Linked DNA regions of Homo sapiens: region 1 is linked to region 2. The links are contacts of gene promoters, found by promoter capture Hi-C in blood cells and fetal thymus (Javierre and others, 2016). All regions are on one chromosome and are shown on one strand. The core of a region is centred on a gene start or on the middle of the fragment in contact, and the rest is flanking DNA. Distances in the headings are between cores, read along the strand shown. Region 1 overlaps ZKSCAN5 (zinc finger with KRAB and SCAN domains 5). Region 2 holds the start of ZSCAN21 (zinc finger and SCAN domain containing 21).

Region 1 (7,727 bases), core at 2,437-4,936, 520 kb before region 2:
AAGCAATCGCTTTAAAATAGTTATCTTTTGTTTTCTACCTTCCCTGCAATTGTTTCTATGGCTAGTTTCCCAGTGAATACTCACTTGCCTTCCACATTTTTTTTGTGGGGCGGGGGCGTTTTTGTATTTTGAGATAGGGTCTTGCTCTGTCACACAGGCTAGGGTAAAGTAGCGGGATCTCAGCTCACTGCAGCCTCCACTTCCTGGGCTGAACTAATCCTCCCACCTCAGCTTCCTGCATAGCTGGGACTACAAGTGTTCACCACCACACCCAGCTAATTTATGTATTTTTTGTAGAGAAGGGGTCTGGCTCTGTTGCCCAGGCTGGTCTTGAACTTCTAGGCTTAAGCGATCCTCCAGCCTTGGCCTCCACAAGTGCTAGGAGTTACAGGTGTGAGCCACCATGCCCGGTCCTCCCTCATTTTTCTGGATCAAAGGGGGAATACATGTTTTGCACATCCAGCCATATTATTGAGAGTCTGTGTTGCTAGTTGCACAGGATCTGCAGTGACCAGAACAGAGATACAGTCCATGCTCTCATGCAGCCGATGGTCTGGTGGGGGTAGCAGATAGTAAAGGTGATGAGCATTCCCAAAGGAGAAGGATGACATGCCGGGGGAGGAAAACTGAGGCTAGAATGTTGGCTAAGGGTGAAGGGGGCAGGGATTGCTGTATCACCCACCCTCTGACAATGCTTCTTGTTGGCTCATTTTGCCTTATTTCCTGACTCCTAGTCAGATATTCCCTGACTGCATACCCTCTTCATCATCCTTCACTCTCATTCTTCCAGTTTTTGTCAGTTCTCACCACCCAGTTATGTATTTGTTTTTTGTTTTTCTTTTTTGAGATGGAGTCTCACTCTGTCACCCAGGCTGGAGTGCAGTGATGTGATCTCAACTCACTGCAGCTTCTGCCTCCTGGGTTCAGGCGATTCTTCTGCCTCAGCCTCCCGAGTAGCTGGGACTACAGGCACCTACCACGATCCCTTGCTAATTTTTGTATGTTTAGTAGAGATGAGGTTTTACCATGTTGGTCAGGCTGGTCTTGAACTCCTGACCTCAGGTGATCCACCTGCCTCAGCCTCCCAAAGTGCTGGGATTATAGGCACGAGTCACCACACCCAGCCTGCTACATTTTCTTTATCAACTCATTGCTCAACGGGCACTTAGATTGGCTCCATATCTTTGCAGTTGTGAATTGTGCTGCAGAAGACAGGCGCTTACAGTCTTTTTGGTATATTGTCTTTTCCTTTGTGTAGATATACCCAGTTGTGGAATTGCTGGATCAAATGGCAGATCTACTTCTGGTTCTTGAAGAAGTCTCCATACTGTTATCCACAGAAGTTGTATTAATTTATCTCTCACCAGCAATGTATAAGCGTTCCCTTTTCACCACATCCATGCCAACATCTATTGTTTTTTGACTTCTTTGTTTTTTTTGAGATGGAGTCTCGCTGTGTTGCCCAGGCTGGAGTGCAGTGGCGCAATCTTGGCTCACTGCAACCTCTGCCTCTTGGGTTCAAGCAATTCTCTGCCTCAGCCTCTGGAGTAGCTGTGATTACAGGGCACCCACCACCATGCCCAGCTAATTTTTGTATTTTTAGTAGAGATGGGGTTTCACTGTCTTGGTCAGGCTGGTCTTGAATTCCTGACCTCGTGATCCACCCACCTCGGCTTCCCAAAGTTCTGGGATTACAGGCGTGAGCCACCTGCACCCGGCCTTTTTTTTTTTTTTTTTTTGAGATGGAGTCTTGCTGTTGCCCAGGCTGGAGTGCAATGGCGCAGTCTCGGCTCACTGCAACCTCAGCCTCCTGGGTTCAAGCGATTCTCCTGCCTCAGCCTCCTGAGTAGCTGGGATTACAGGCGCCCGCCACCATGCCCAGCTAATTTTTGTATTTTTAGTAGAGATGTGGGTTTCACCATGTTGGCCAGGCTGGTTTCGAACTCCTGACCTCAGGTGATCTGCCCGCCTCGGCCTCCCATAGTGCTGGGATTACAGGTGTGAGCCACCACGCCCGGCCTTTTGACTTCTTAATAATGGCCATTCTTGCAGGAGTAAGGCAGTACCTTATTGTGGCTTTAATTTGCACCTTCCTGATGATTAGTGATGTTCAGCATTTTTTTCATGTTTGTTGGTCATTTGTATATATTATTTTGAGAACTGTCTCCATGTCATTTGCCTACTTTTTGATGGGATTTTTTTTTTCTTGTTGACTTGTTAGAGTTACTTGTAGATTCTGGATATTAGTCCTTTGTCTGATGCATAGTTTGCAAATATTTTCTGCCATCCTGTGGATGAGTCTTGCTCTTTTCGTCAGAAAATTCCAAAAGTTTGTTGTTTACATTCCTGTTGGCATCAAGTACACACACACATCCACCTCTGTTACTCCCGTTACATCATAGTTTCATCTGATGAACATTTTTTATGACAGTTTATTTTTCCTTTATAAAAGAACTGATGGGCCAGGCACGGTGGCTTAAACCTGTAATCCCAGCACTTTGGGAGGCTGAGGCGGGTGGATCACCCAAAGTCAGGAGTTTGAGACCAGCCTGGCCAACATGGCAAAACCCCATCTCTACTAAACATACAAAAATTAGCTGGGTGTGGTCATGCACGCCTGTAGTCTCAGCTACTTGAGAGGCTGAGGCAGGAGAATCACTTGAACCCAGGAGGCAGAGGTTGCAGTGAGCCGAGATCGCATCATTGCACTCTAGCCTGGGCGACAGAGCAAGACCCCATCTCAAAAAAAAAAAAGAACTGATGACATTTTCACTTGCTCTTTATTTTTTTTAGGCAGTGACAAAAGAAGTAAGAACACAAAATTAAGTGTTAAGAAGAAAATTTCAGAATATTCAGAAGCAGACATGGAACTATCTGGAAAAACCCAAAGAAATGTTTCTCAAGTTCAAGATTTTGGAGAAGGCTGTGAGTTTCAAGGCAAGCTGGATAGAAAGCAGGGAATTCCCATGAAAGAGATACTAGGACAACCATCTTCAAAGAGGATGAACTACAGTGAAGTCCCATATGTCCACAAAAAATCCTCCACTGGAGAGAGACCACATAAATGTAACGAGTGTGGGAAAAGCTTCATTCAGAGTGCACATCTTATTCAACATCAAAGAATACACACTGGGGAGAAACCATTCAGGTGTGAGGAATGTGGGAAAAGCTACAACCAACGCGTGCACCTAACTCAGCATCAGCGCGTCCACACAGGTGAGAAGCCCTACACCTGTCCCTTATGTGGGAAAGCCTTCAGAGTGAGGTCCCACCTTGTTCAGCATCAGAGCGTGCACAGTGGGGAGAGACCCTTCAAGTGTAACGAATGTGGGAAAGGCTTTGGGAGGCGTTCCCACCTGGCTGGACATCTTCGACTCCACTCCCGAGAGAAATCCCATCAGTGTCGTGAATGTGGGGAAATCTTTTTTCAGTACGTTAGCCTAATTGAACATCAGGTGCTCCACATGGGTCAGAAAAATGAAAAAAATGGCATCTGTGAGGAAGCATATAGTTGGAACTTGACAGTGATTGAAGACAAGAAGATTGAGTTACAAGAGCAGCCTTATCAGTGTGATATCTGTGGAAAAGCCTTTGGTTATAGCTCAGACCTCATTCAGCATTACAGAACTCATACAGCAGAGAAGCCCTATCAATGTGATATATGTAGAGAAAATGTTGGCCAGTGTTCCCACACCAAACAACATCAAAAAATCTACTCCAGCACAAAATCCCATCAATGTCATGAATGTGGCAGAGGCTTCACTCTGAAGTCACATCTTAATCAACATCAGAGAATCCATACTGGTGAGAAACCTTTTCAATGTAAAGAATGTGGAATGAATTTCAGCTGGAGTTGTAGCCTCTTTAAACACCTGAGAAGCCATGAGAGGACAGATCCCATAAATACCTTAAGTGTAGAGGGGTCTCTGTTGTAGAATAGCTCTTAATTTTAGAGAAACCTTCCTGGAGGGAAACCATACTCCTATAATGAGCAAAGTAACAACTTCAAGCATTTTTCCAGCGTTACCATCAAACTCACAAATAGGTTGAAATCCTTTAGTTATAACTCAGCCTTTAGGAACACCGGAGAACCCACAATAATAGAAATCTTTTCGTGTTCCCCATTGAGAAATGCTTTAGTTAGCATCTTCATGCTTGGAAATCTAGACAAGAAGAGAATCCATGGATGGACATGGTCGAGGAATTCGGAAAGCCTGCAGTTGACATTCAGTCTTCACTTGAAACTCAAAACTGACACTAGGAACAGCTTCATGAGTTCAGTAGAAGTAAGCTTTATTTGTAGCTTCTGCCTTGTTTGACGGCGTATCTATTCAGGGAAGCGCACAGTAAAAGAATTCCTTAGCATGATGTCTGTTTTGGTACCTCAGCAATGAACCTTTTCTAGAAATTATTATTCCAACCACTAGAATACCCTAGTCACTATTCCCACTTTGAGCATTAACCCCTTTGAAAAGAAATGGACTTAAAGTATCTCTGTTTTGGCAAAATTCAGGTTCAGGGGCTGGATGGTATGTGTTTCTGCTGCCTTATTCAATCCACCACTTCTCTGTGAAACACTCTACCTTGTTTTTGGTTTGATTCTACTGATGTCAGGGTTTAGCCGGTAGAAGGAGTAGTTCAGTTTGTCAATTCAGGAGAAACTGTACTGGTCAGTCACATCTTACGGCGAAGGGAGAGGGACCTTAGGGGAGCAGAGAAGACAGGCAAAGTTGTGGACTGTTTGATCTTGTATTACCCACAGGAATGAGGGCAGCTAAACCCATAGAAGGAGTTGGACCAAGGCGAATTACGAGTCCTGGTCCCAGCAGTATGTGTGCTGACTTCTGGGTGCCCCAGAAATAGACCTCTCCTGTAGAGTGGTGATATACAGAATGAGTTTCAGTTTGCATTGCAGCTGGGATTGAAAGTAATCAGTCGTGAGCAGGCAGGCAGGAGGTCCTGTTAGCCCTGCCTTCCAGGAAGGTTGGGGTGGGAGTTTTGAGTGGGAAAGAGGATGACATGTGTGAGAGAGTTCTGAGCCTGTTTGCTAGGGAGAGTGAGTGAGTGCTCTTGGGCACTGCTCAGGCCGTTTCTGCTGACTTGCCTGGCTTACAATAAATGCCCAATAAATATTTGTTGACCATATGTGTTGTACACTGTGGTGCCCTGTCCAGTCCCCTCTACCAAGCTGAGACCCCCATCCCCAGCTGCTCTGAGTTTGGGCTGCAAGTGCTCACAGCTCTTGTTCTCCAGAAACTGGAGAATTGCCCTCAGGAGATGAGAGCCATCTCACCTCACCCAGGAGTCACTTCCTCTCTACACCCCAACACCTGGTTCATTTGATTAAAGCGGAGAAAACTCCAGGGTGCTATGACTGCTCTGGCACCCTTGGATCAGGCCAAGCTAGACTTTTTCTGAGCCTTCATCCGTGCTAAGCTCTCTCCCTTCTCTATCCTGTTTCATTCCCTCCCTCAAAGGCGTTTCCCAAATAAATCACACTGTCAATCACATGGTTCTGAATCCCTGTCTCAGGCTCTGCTTTAGAGAACCTGATCTAAGACATTTGGTGCCACAAGTGGTCATAGGAAGCTGCTGTGAGAGTGGATTGTGGAGTTGGTCACTCGCCAGGAGGGAGTGAAGACCCGCATCACTGTTAATAGTCCTGGCATGTGGTACCTGTCCAGTCACTAAGTCATTCACTTGTGGGGAACTGGGATGAGATACAGGTGGAAAGCGATCTATTGACTTGTAGAGGTTTGGGACAAACAGGAAAATAAAGATTATGGAATTGGGTGGCTCTTGCTGAAAGTCACTGAATCCTTGAAGAGAAGAAAATGACAGGGCAAATAACCACCAATTTAATGCCAAGTGTGTGTCAGAGGACCTTCTTGGTAGCTTTTTAATTTTTTTATAGACAGGGTCTTGCTCTGCTGCCCAGGCTAGAGTGCAGTGGTGCAATCACAGCTCACTGCAGCCTTGACCTCCCGGGCTCAAGTGGTCTAGCCACCTCAGCCTCCTGAATAGCTGGGACTACAGGCACATGCCACCATGAGTGGCTAATTTTTAAAAAACATACTTTAGCTGGGCGCGGTGGCTCATGCCTATAAACCCAGCACTTTGGGAGGCTGAGGCGGGCAGATCACGAGGTCAAGAGATCGAAACCATCCTGGCCAACCAACATGGTGAAACCCGGTCTCTACTTAAAATACAAAAATTAGCTGGGCATAGTGGCGCATGCCTATAGTCCCAGCTACTCCAGAGGCTGAGGCAGGAGAATCGCTTGAACCCGGGAGGCAGAGGTTGCAGTGAGCTGAGATCACGCCACTGCACTCTAGCCCAGTTGACAGAGCGACAGTGTCTAAAAAAAAAAAAAAAAAAAAAAAAAACATTTTTTGGAGAGATGGTATCTCCCTATGCTGCCCAGAGTGGTCTCGAACTCCTGGGCTCAAGTGATCCTCCAGCCTTGGCCTCCCAAATGTTGGGATTACAGGCATGAGCTACTGCACCTGGCCTTGGAGTGATTCTTGAAAGCTTAGAAAAGTCAGTGGCCCACATTAAATGACGTAGAGATGACAAAACCATGGCAGACTTAACAAAGGGATCCAAAGATTCATACATACACAAACTAGGATGGAACTAGAAGATAAGACCAAGCAACCCACCTTCAGTTATGTTCCTTAGGAGGGTCTGGAGAGCATTCTGTTTACCAAGGTTCCAAGGAATGCCCTGGTTGGGGGGCCATCAGCATCACTGAGAAGCTTGGTAGTGGCTATCCTGGTTTGCAGGGGCTGGTTATTATATAACATCACCCCAGACCATTCACATTACAGCCAGAGGTGCAGCAGTGGGCATGTGGCCATGGGGACCATTGTTTGTTTGTTTTTTGTTTTTTGAGACAGGGTCTCGCTTTGTCACCCAGGCTGGAGTGGAGTGGCATGATTACAGCTCACTGCAGCCTCAACTTCCCGGGTGCCAGCGATCCTCCCACCTCAGCCTCCCAAGTAGCTGGGACCAGAGGCATGTGCCACCATACGTGGTTCATTTTTGTATTTTTGGTAGAGACAGGGTTTTGCCATGTTGCCTGGACTGGTCTCAAACTCCTGAGCTCAAGCAGTCCACCCGTCTCAGCCTCCCAAAGTGCTGGCATTACAGACATGGGCCACAGCACCAGGCTATTTATTTTCTATTTTTGGTAGAGATGGGGTCTCACTATGTTGCCCAGGCTGGTCTTGAACTCCTGGGATCAAGGAATACTCCTGTCTCTGCCTCCTAAAAATGTTGGGATTATAGGCATGAGCCATCATGCTTGGTTCATACACTCTTTAAACCAACAGCCATTAAAAGGTGCTGTCTTTAATAGGCAGAATAAGGCCAGGCACTGTGGCTCATGCCTGTAATCCCAGCATCTTGAGAGGCCAAGGCAGGAGGATTGCTTGAGCCCAGGAATTCAAGATCAGCCTGGGCAACATAGTGAGATCCTCCCTACTCTGCCAGTGCCCCACCGTCTACAAAAAATAAAATAGATTAGTTGGGTGTGATGCTGCATGCATCTGGACCTAGTTACTTGGGAAGCTGAGGTGGGAGGATCACTTGAGCCCAGGAATTAAAGGCTGCAGTGAGCTATGATCACACCACTGCACGCTAGCCTGGGCAACAGAGCAAGACCCTATTGCAAATAAATAAATAAATAAATGAAATAATGGAATAGTGTTTCAGAATTCTTCTGC
Region 2 (6,672 bases), core at 3,233-5,732:
AATCCCAGCACTTTAGGAGGCCGAGGTGGGCAGATCCTGAGGTCAGGAGATCCAGACCATCCTGCCCAACATGGTGAAACCCCATCTCTACTAAAAATACAAAAAGCTAGGTGTGATTGCGCATGCCTGCAATCCCAGCAACTTGGGAGGCTGAGGCAGGAGAATTGCTTCAACCAGGGAGTTGGAGGTTGCAGTGAGCCGAGATGGCGCCACTGCACTCCAGCCTGGCGACAGAGCAAGACTCAGTCTCACCAAAAAAAAAAAAAAAAAAAAAATTGTCCAGCATGGTGGCGTGCATGGGAATTATTTTTCTTTTGTGGTCCCAGCTACTCGGGAGGCTGAGGCAGCAGGATTGCTTGAGCCCAGGAGTTCTCTACCAGCCTGGGCAACATGGTAAAACCCCTAGAAATAATTTTTTAGGGGCTGGGCGCAGTGGCTCACGCCTGTAATCCCAGCACTTTGGGAGGCCGAGGCGGGTGGATCACGAGGTCAGGAGATCGAGATCATCCTGGCTAACACGGTGAAACCCCGTCTCTACTAAAAATACAAAAAATTAGCCGGGCATGGTGGCGGGTGCCTGTAGTCCCAGCTACCCGGGAGGCTGAGGCAGGAGAATGGTGTGAACCTGGGAGGCGGAGCTTGCAGTGAGCCGAGATCACGCCACTGCACTCCAGCCTGGGCGACAGAGCGAGACTCCGTCTCAAAAAAAAAAAAAAAAGAAATAATTTTTTAGAAAAATAGCCAGGCATGGTAGCATGTGCCTACTCGGGAGGCTGAGGTGGGAGGATCACTTGAGTCCAGGAGTTGGAGGCTGCAGTGAGCTATGATCACACCACTGCACTCCAGCCTGGGCAACAGAGTGAGGCCCTACCGCAAATAAATAAATAAAAATAAAAAATCTCTTGAGACACAGCAAGCACACAGGATTGGAGAATCTGGCTTGTGCTCTCAGCTTTGATACTAATTAGCTAACTAGTGTACCTTGGATCCGACTTCTTCAGGCACTGGTTTCTTCAACTGAAAACAAGAAACAAGAGTTTAACCAGATTGTCCTTAAGGTCTCTTTTGACGTTAATATTTTACAGCAGCTCTAAGCCCCTTTGCTTGAGGAGCATCTCAGCCCTGGAAAGGACAATGGGTTTGGAAATAGATGGATTTTCTTCAAGCCCCAGCATAACCACTTAATGGTTTCATAACTAGACAAAGACCCGTTGACCAAGAGGCTGAATGGAGCCCCACCAAAGCATCGACACAGGTGTGGCTCTTGAAATGTGTGTAGGTTTCCCGGTTCTTCCCTCTGTCCTGGTGATCCTGTTTCCATTTCCCATCTCTTTCTTCCCCGTCTAACTGAGAGGCAGTAGAGCACAGGCTTTGGAGAAAGGGGGCCAAGTTTCACTCCTGATGCTCCCACGTATCAGTTGTGTGATATTGGAAAAGTGACTTTTTGGAGCCTGTTTCCTGGTCTATAAAATGGAGATTTTGGGGCCAGGCACAGTGGCTCACGGTGGCTCCCAGCACTTTGGGAGGCTGAGGCAGGTGGATCACTTGAGGTCACGAGTTCAAGACCATGGGGGAATGAATTAAAAGGACTAACCATGTAACAATTGTTAAAGCTGGCCAATGTATATGGAGGCTTTTTTTTTTTTTTTGGTGAGACAGAGTCTCACTCTGTCACCAGGCTGTAGTGCAGGGGTGCAATCTCAGCTCACTGCAATGTCTGCCTCCTGGGTTCAAGCAATTGTCCTTCCTCAGCCACCCGAGTAGCTGGGATTACAGGCATGTGCCACCACACCCAGCTAATTTTTGTATTTTTAATAGAGACAGAGTTTCACCATGTTGGCCAGGATGGTCTCGATCTCTTGACCTTGTGATCCGCCTGCCTCAGCCTCCTAAAGTGCTGGGATTACAGGCGTGAGCCACCGTGCCCTGCCAAGGCTCATTTTTTTTTTTTTTTAAGAGAAAGCAAGTTTATTAGAGAAGTAAAGAAACAGCCGGGCACGGTGGCTCACACCTGTAATCCCAGCACTTTGGGAGGGCGAGGCGGGCAGATCATGAGGTCAGGAGATCAAGACCATCCTGGCCAACATGGTGAAACCCTGTCTCTACTAAAATACAAAAAAAAATAAAAAATTACCCGAGCGTGGTGGTGCGCGCCTGTAGTCCCAGCTACTCGGGAGGCTGAGGCAGAGGAATCGCTTGAACCTAGGAGGCGGAGGTTGCAGTGAGCCTAGATTGCACCACTGCACTCCAGCCTGGCGACAGAGTAAGACTCCATCTCAAAAAAAAAAAAGAAAGAAACAAAAGAATGCACATGGAGGCTCATTTTCTCTAATTTTGCATGTCTTTAAACATAAAAAATTTTTAAATTATCCTGGAAAATGTCAGGGAAAAATGATATTGAGTATCTATGAATTCATGACGCGTATGGACAGGGAATTCCACGTGCAGGCAGCCATATTGGTGTTCCTCAACACATGTGAGTTTTGCAGGACCAGACAAAAGCAAACTCACAGGGGGCCCGATGGAGTAGTGCTGAGGTGGAAAATACAGACTCTTCAGTCTGGAAACCTGCAGCTGAGCCAGAGCAGCAGGAGGAAAAGGCAGGCAAAGACATCTTCATCGAGTCCTGCAGCATTGGAAGGAGTTCAGCCCCTAGGTCTTCTGCTCAGGAAGTTTAGGACCCACAGAAGGGCAAGGCTACTTCTGATTGATGTCACCATGACCCTGGTCTGCAAAGTTGAGGACTAAACTCTGACTGTTTTCTTCTTTTGCCCAAATTACTATCTAAGGGGCCTGGAGAGTCACCCCCTTCAAACCATAAAGCCTCATCAGACAGGTTTTATTTAACTTTATATAACCTGGCTGACTTTTCAACCAGGCTCTGGCATAACATCACATGGCAGATAAAGAAGGAAACGAAAATATTTCCACCCCAAATATGTTTTTTTGCCATATCTTGAAATAACCCTACCAAGCTGTCTTCTCGTGGGGAAAATCTACACTTGGTAGAGAATCCCCTTCCCTTTCCAGGCCTTTTTCCTGATCCAGGAGAGAATCAACTGGGCGTCTGGCACTTTTTAAAGTCTGATAAGAAATATTTGCAGTCTGTTCTTTCTGAAGCCGGCTGCCTGGAGGCTCCATCTGCATAATGGGAACCCTGGTCTCCACAACCCCTTAGTTCAGCGGTCCCCAACCTTTTTTGGCACCAGGAACCAGTTTTGTGGAAGACAGTTTTTTCCATGGATGGCAGGAGGGGGATGGATGGTTTCGTGGTTTCAGGATGATTCAAGCACATTACATTTATTGTGTACTTTATTTCTATTATTATTACATTGTAATATATCATGAAATAATTGTACAACTCATCATAACATAGAATTAGTGGGAGCCCTGAGTTTGTTTTCCTGTAATTAGAGGGTTCCATTGGGGAATTATGGGAGACAGCGACAGATCATCAGGTATTAGATTCTCATAAAGAGTGCACAACCTAGATCCCTCGCATGCACTGTCCACAATAGGGTTTGTGCTCCTGTAAGAATCTAATGCTATGGCTGATCTGACAGGAGGCGGAGCTCAGGCAGTAATTAGAGCAATGGGGAGTGGCTGTAGATACAGGTGAAGCTTTGCTCCTGCAGCTCACCTCCTGCAGTAACGGCCCAGTTCCTAACAGGCCATGGACTGGTATCTGTCTGTGCCCCAAGGGTTGGGGACCCCTGCCTTAGTCATCCCAGACATTCCTTTCTATTGATTATAGGTCTTTAGACAATAACTTTCAGCCAGTTGCCCATTAGAAGATCCTTGAGTTCACCTATGACTTGGAACATCCCCGCTTGGAATTGTCCTGCCTTTCCCACAGAACCAATGTTCATCTTACATGTCTTGATTGGTGTCTTATGTCTCCCTAAATTGTATAAACCCAAGCTGTAGCCCGACCATCATAGGTACATGTTCTTAGGACCTCTTGAGACTGTACCTTGGGCCATTGGTCACTCATATTTGTCTCAAAATAAATGTCTTCAAATATTTTACAGTTTGATTGTTTTCATCAACGAAGTATTAACTCAATCTCTGGCTTCACGGGCCAAGCACAGCGTTCCATGTCCATAAACCTGGACCGAGGAGCTGGGCCCAAGGGTATCCAGTGACCTCGATCCAGGTTTATGGACAAGGAACCCTGTGCTTATCCCAAGGGTACTCAGGGACCTTGGGCTCTGAAGTCCACGAGGGTGACCGAGGTGGCTGCCTCAGCCCATGCCCTCCCTGCCCCAGGGCGTCGGGGTTGGGTGAGAGAACCGCCGCAGCCTTCATCTGGTCTGACCGTCTTCGGTAAAAACAGAAAGAGTCCCTGGCTTTTCATTTTCGGGGTGGACTCAACTCCTCCCTGATGTCCCAAGGGCCAGAGACACAGAGAGGACCTCCCGAATTTCTAGAGGGGCCGCTACGGCCCCGCACTACTTTTCCGCGGGGGCGGGGCTATGACGCACTTCCGGGTGCGCGGTCCCGAGGTACGCGGTGCGGTCTCCCGGTACCCGGAGCGGCTCTGATTCATGGTGAGCCTGCTGGTCGCGGGTTAGCGAGGCGGACAGGAGAGGGAGCCGTGGCTGAATGGTCTGGGGAGGGAGGAGTGGGTTTAGCAGCTGTGGCTTCCGAGGACCCCACCTAGACCGGTCCTAGCAGGGCTGTGGGGAGGAGCTCCTCGTCCCCGCCCAGGACCAGCTGGTGGGGGCGCTGGCTGCCTGGAAAGCCTTTTCTTCCACTTGGGGCTTTAACAAATGAAAGCTGGAAGAACAGATGTTTTGGAAGTTCTTTCGCGTTCCAGAATAGTTTTTTTTGTGCGTTCCCCAAGCCAAGCCGTCTATCAGTCTGACCGTGGCCGCCTTTTTTCCCTTTCTCTGAACTGGAGGTCCGAACGCAAGGCTCATTGATGGCAATACGCCCAAGGTGTTGGAAACCTGTGGGAAGCCGAACCTCATTAGAAGTGTTGGGTAGAATCAAATCCAAGGGAAGAAATAGTCCCCTCGGGCTTTGTTCGGGCTAGAACACACACACAGAATAGGGATCTGCTCATGGTTTAGAAAAACAGTCTTAAAGAACCATGTATAAATAAAAGAGTGTCAGGACAAAGTTGATTTGGGCCAGGCGCGGTGGCTCACGCCTGTAATCCCAGCAGTTCGGGAGGCCGAGGCCGGCGGATCACTTGAGGTCAGGAGTTCGAGACCAGCCTGGCCAAACCCTGTCCCCACGAAAAATACAAAAATTAGCTGGGTGTGGTGGAGCGCGCCTGTAATCCCAGCTACTCAGGAGGCTGAGGCAGGAGAATCGCTTGAACCCACCAGGTGGAGGTTGCACTGAACCGAGATCACGCCACTGCACTCCAGCCTGGGCGACAGAGCAACACTTGGTCTCACAAAAAAAAAGAACGTTGATTTGATGGGTGAGGTACTTGGAAACCCACGAAATCTAAGGAACAGTTGAGCTGTGGAGAGGAAAAGAATTAAGAGGCAAGATAATTGTTTTCAAGTGTTGGAAGGCTGCTATGGAGAAAGTGAGTATTGGTCTTGGACTAACCTAGGATTTTTGAAATGATGCGGAATTTGATTCAGGTTAAAGAATTTGTGTGGCCGGGCGCGGTGGCTCATGCCTGTAATCCAGCACTTTGGGAGGCCGAGGCGAGTGCATCACCTGAGGTCGGGAGTTCGAGACCAGCCTGACCAACATGGAGAAACCCCGTCTCTACTACAAATACAAAATTAGGCGGGCGTGGTGGCACATGCCTGTAAGGAGGCTGAGGCAGGAGAATCGCTTGAACCTGGGAGGCAGAGGTTGCGGTGAGCCGAGATCGCGCCATTGCACTCCAGCCTGGGAAACAAGAGTGAAACTACGTCTCAAAAAAAAAAAAAAAAAAAAAAAAAGGAAGAACTTGTAACAATTAGTGGAATTCTGTGGCTCAAGAATTATCTAATTTGGCTGCCTAGGGATCTAGGGATTTTCTTTTTTTTTTTTTTTTTTTTTTTTTTTTTGAGATGGAGTCTCGCTCTGTCGCCTAGGTTGGAATGCAGTGGCGCGATCTCGGCTCACTGCAAGCTCCGCCTCCCGGGTTCTAGCCATTCTCCTGCCTCAGCCTCCCAAGTAGCTGGGACTACAGGCGCCCGCCACAACGCCTGGCTAATTTTTTGTATTTTTTAGTAGAGACGGGGTTTCACCGTGTTAGCCAGAATGGTCTCGATCTCCTGACCTCGTGATCTGCCCGCCTCGGGCCTCCCAAAGTGCTGGAATTACAGGTGTGAGCCACGGCGCCGGGCCCCCTAGGGATTTTCAGGTACGGACTGAGTGTGAAGCATTTTAGCACAAGTGGGTAAGTGCTGTTCTACTTTTAGAATCTATGGTAATTTGATTTTTTTATGCCTCATCTTGTTACAGAATGGACTTGGGGCGCTTTCATAAGGGCATATAAGCTGTGGGAGATTGGCATAAAGGAGGAGGGAAAATGGACACAGAACAAGGGCCTTCTGTTTATGATAGACCATGAACTTTTGCTTGATGGACTTCTTGAGATAAACAGTCTAGATAGCTTTTAAAAAGTCACTGTGATTGTAGACAATGTGAGTTAGTAATGAAGCATTTGATTTCTAGCCGCATGCTTCTTTATTTTTTTAAGAGACAGGGTTTTCC

Evidence for each region. Contacts are between HindIII fragments. The CHiCAGO score rates a contact against its expected background, and 5 or more counts as called.
Region 1: a contact is called between a fragment that was not itself captured here and the fragment with the promoter of ZSCAN21 in region 2, in 5 of 17 cell types (M2 macrophages, erythroblasts, endothelial precursors and 2 more). The highest score is 6.9, in M2 macrophages.

Annotation. Positions count from the first base shown.
Region 1 is chr7:99,528,315-99,536,041 of GRCh38, forward strand. ZKSCAN5 (zinc finger with KRAB and SCAN domains 5) reads left to right here. Exons shown (of 7, transcript NM_145102.4): 7 at 2,794-6,386. The coding sequence ends at 3,935. Among named protein-coding and RNA genes, the nearest start is that of FAM200A, 20 kb to the right of the region's middle. The HindIII fragment of the contact is 1,206 bases long and covers 3,084-4,289 here.
Region 2 is chr7:100,045,292-100,051,963 of GRCh38, forward strand. It overlaps ZSCAN21 (zinc finger and SCAN domain containing 21), which reads left to right and starts at 4,483. Exons shown (of 4, transcript NM_145914.3): 1 at 4,483-4,550. It also overlaps a transcript of ZKSCAN1 not described here. RefSeq lists an enhancer at 4,385-5,004. The HindIII fragment of the contact is 10,625 bases long and covers 3,620-6,672 here.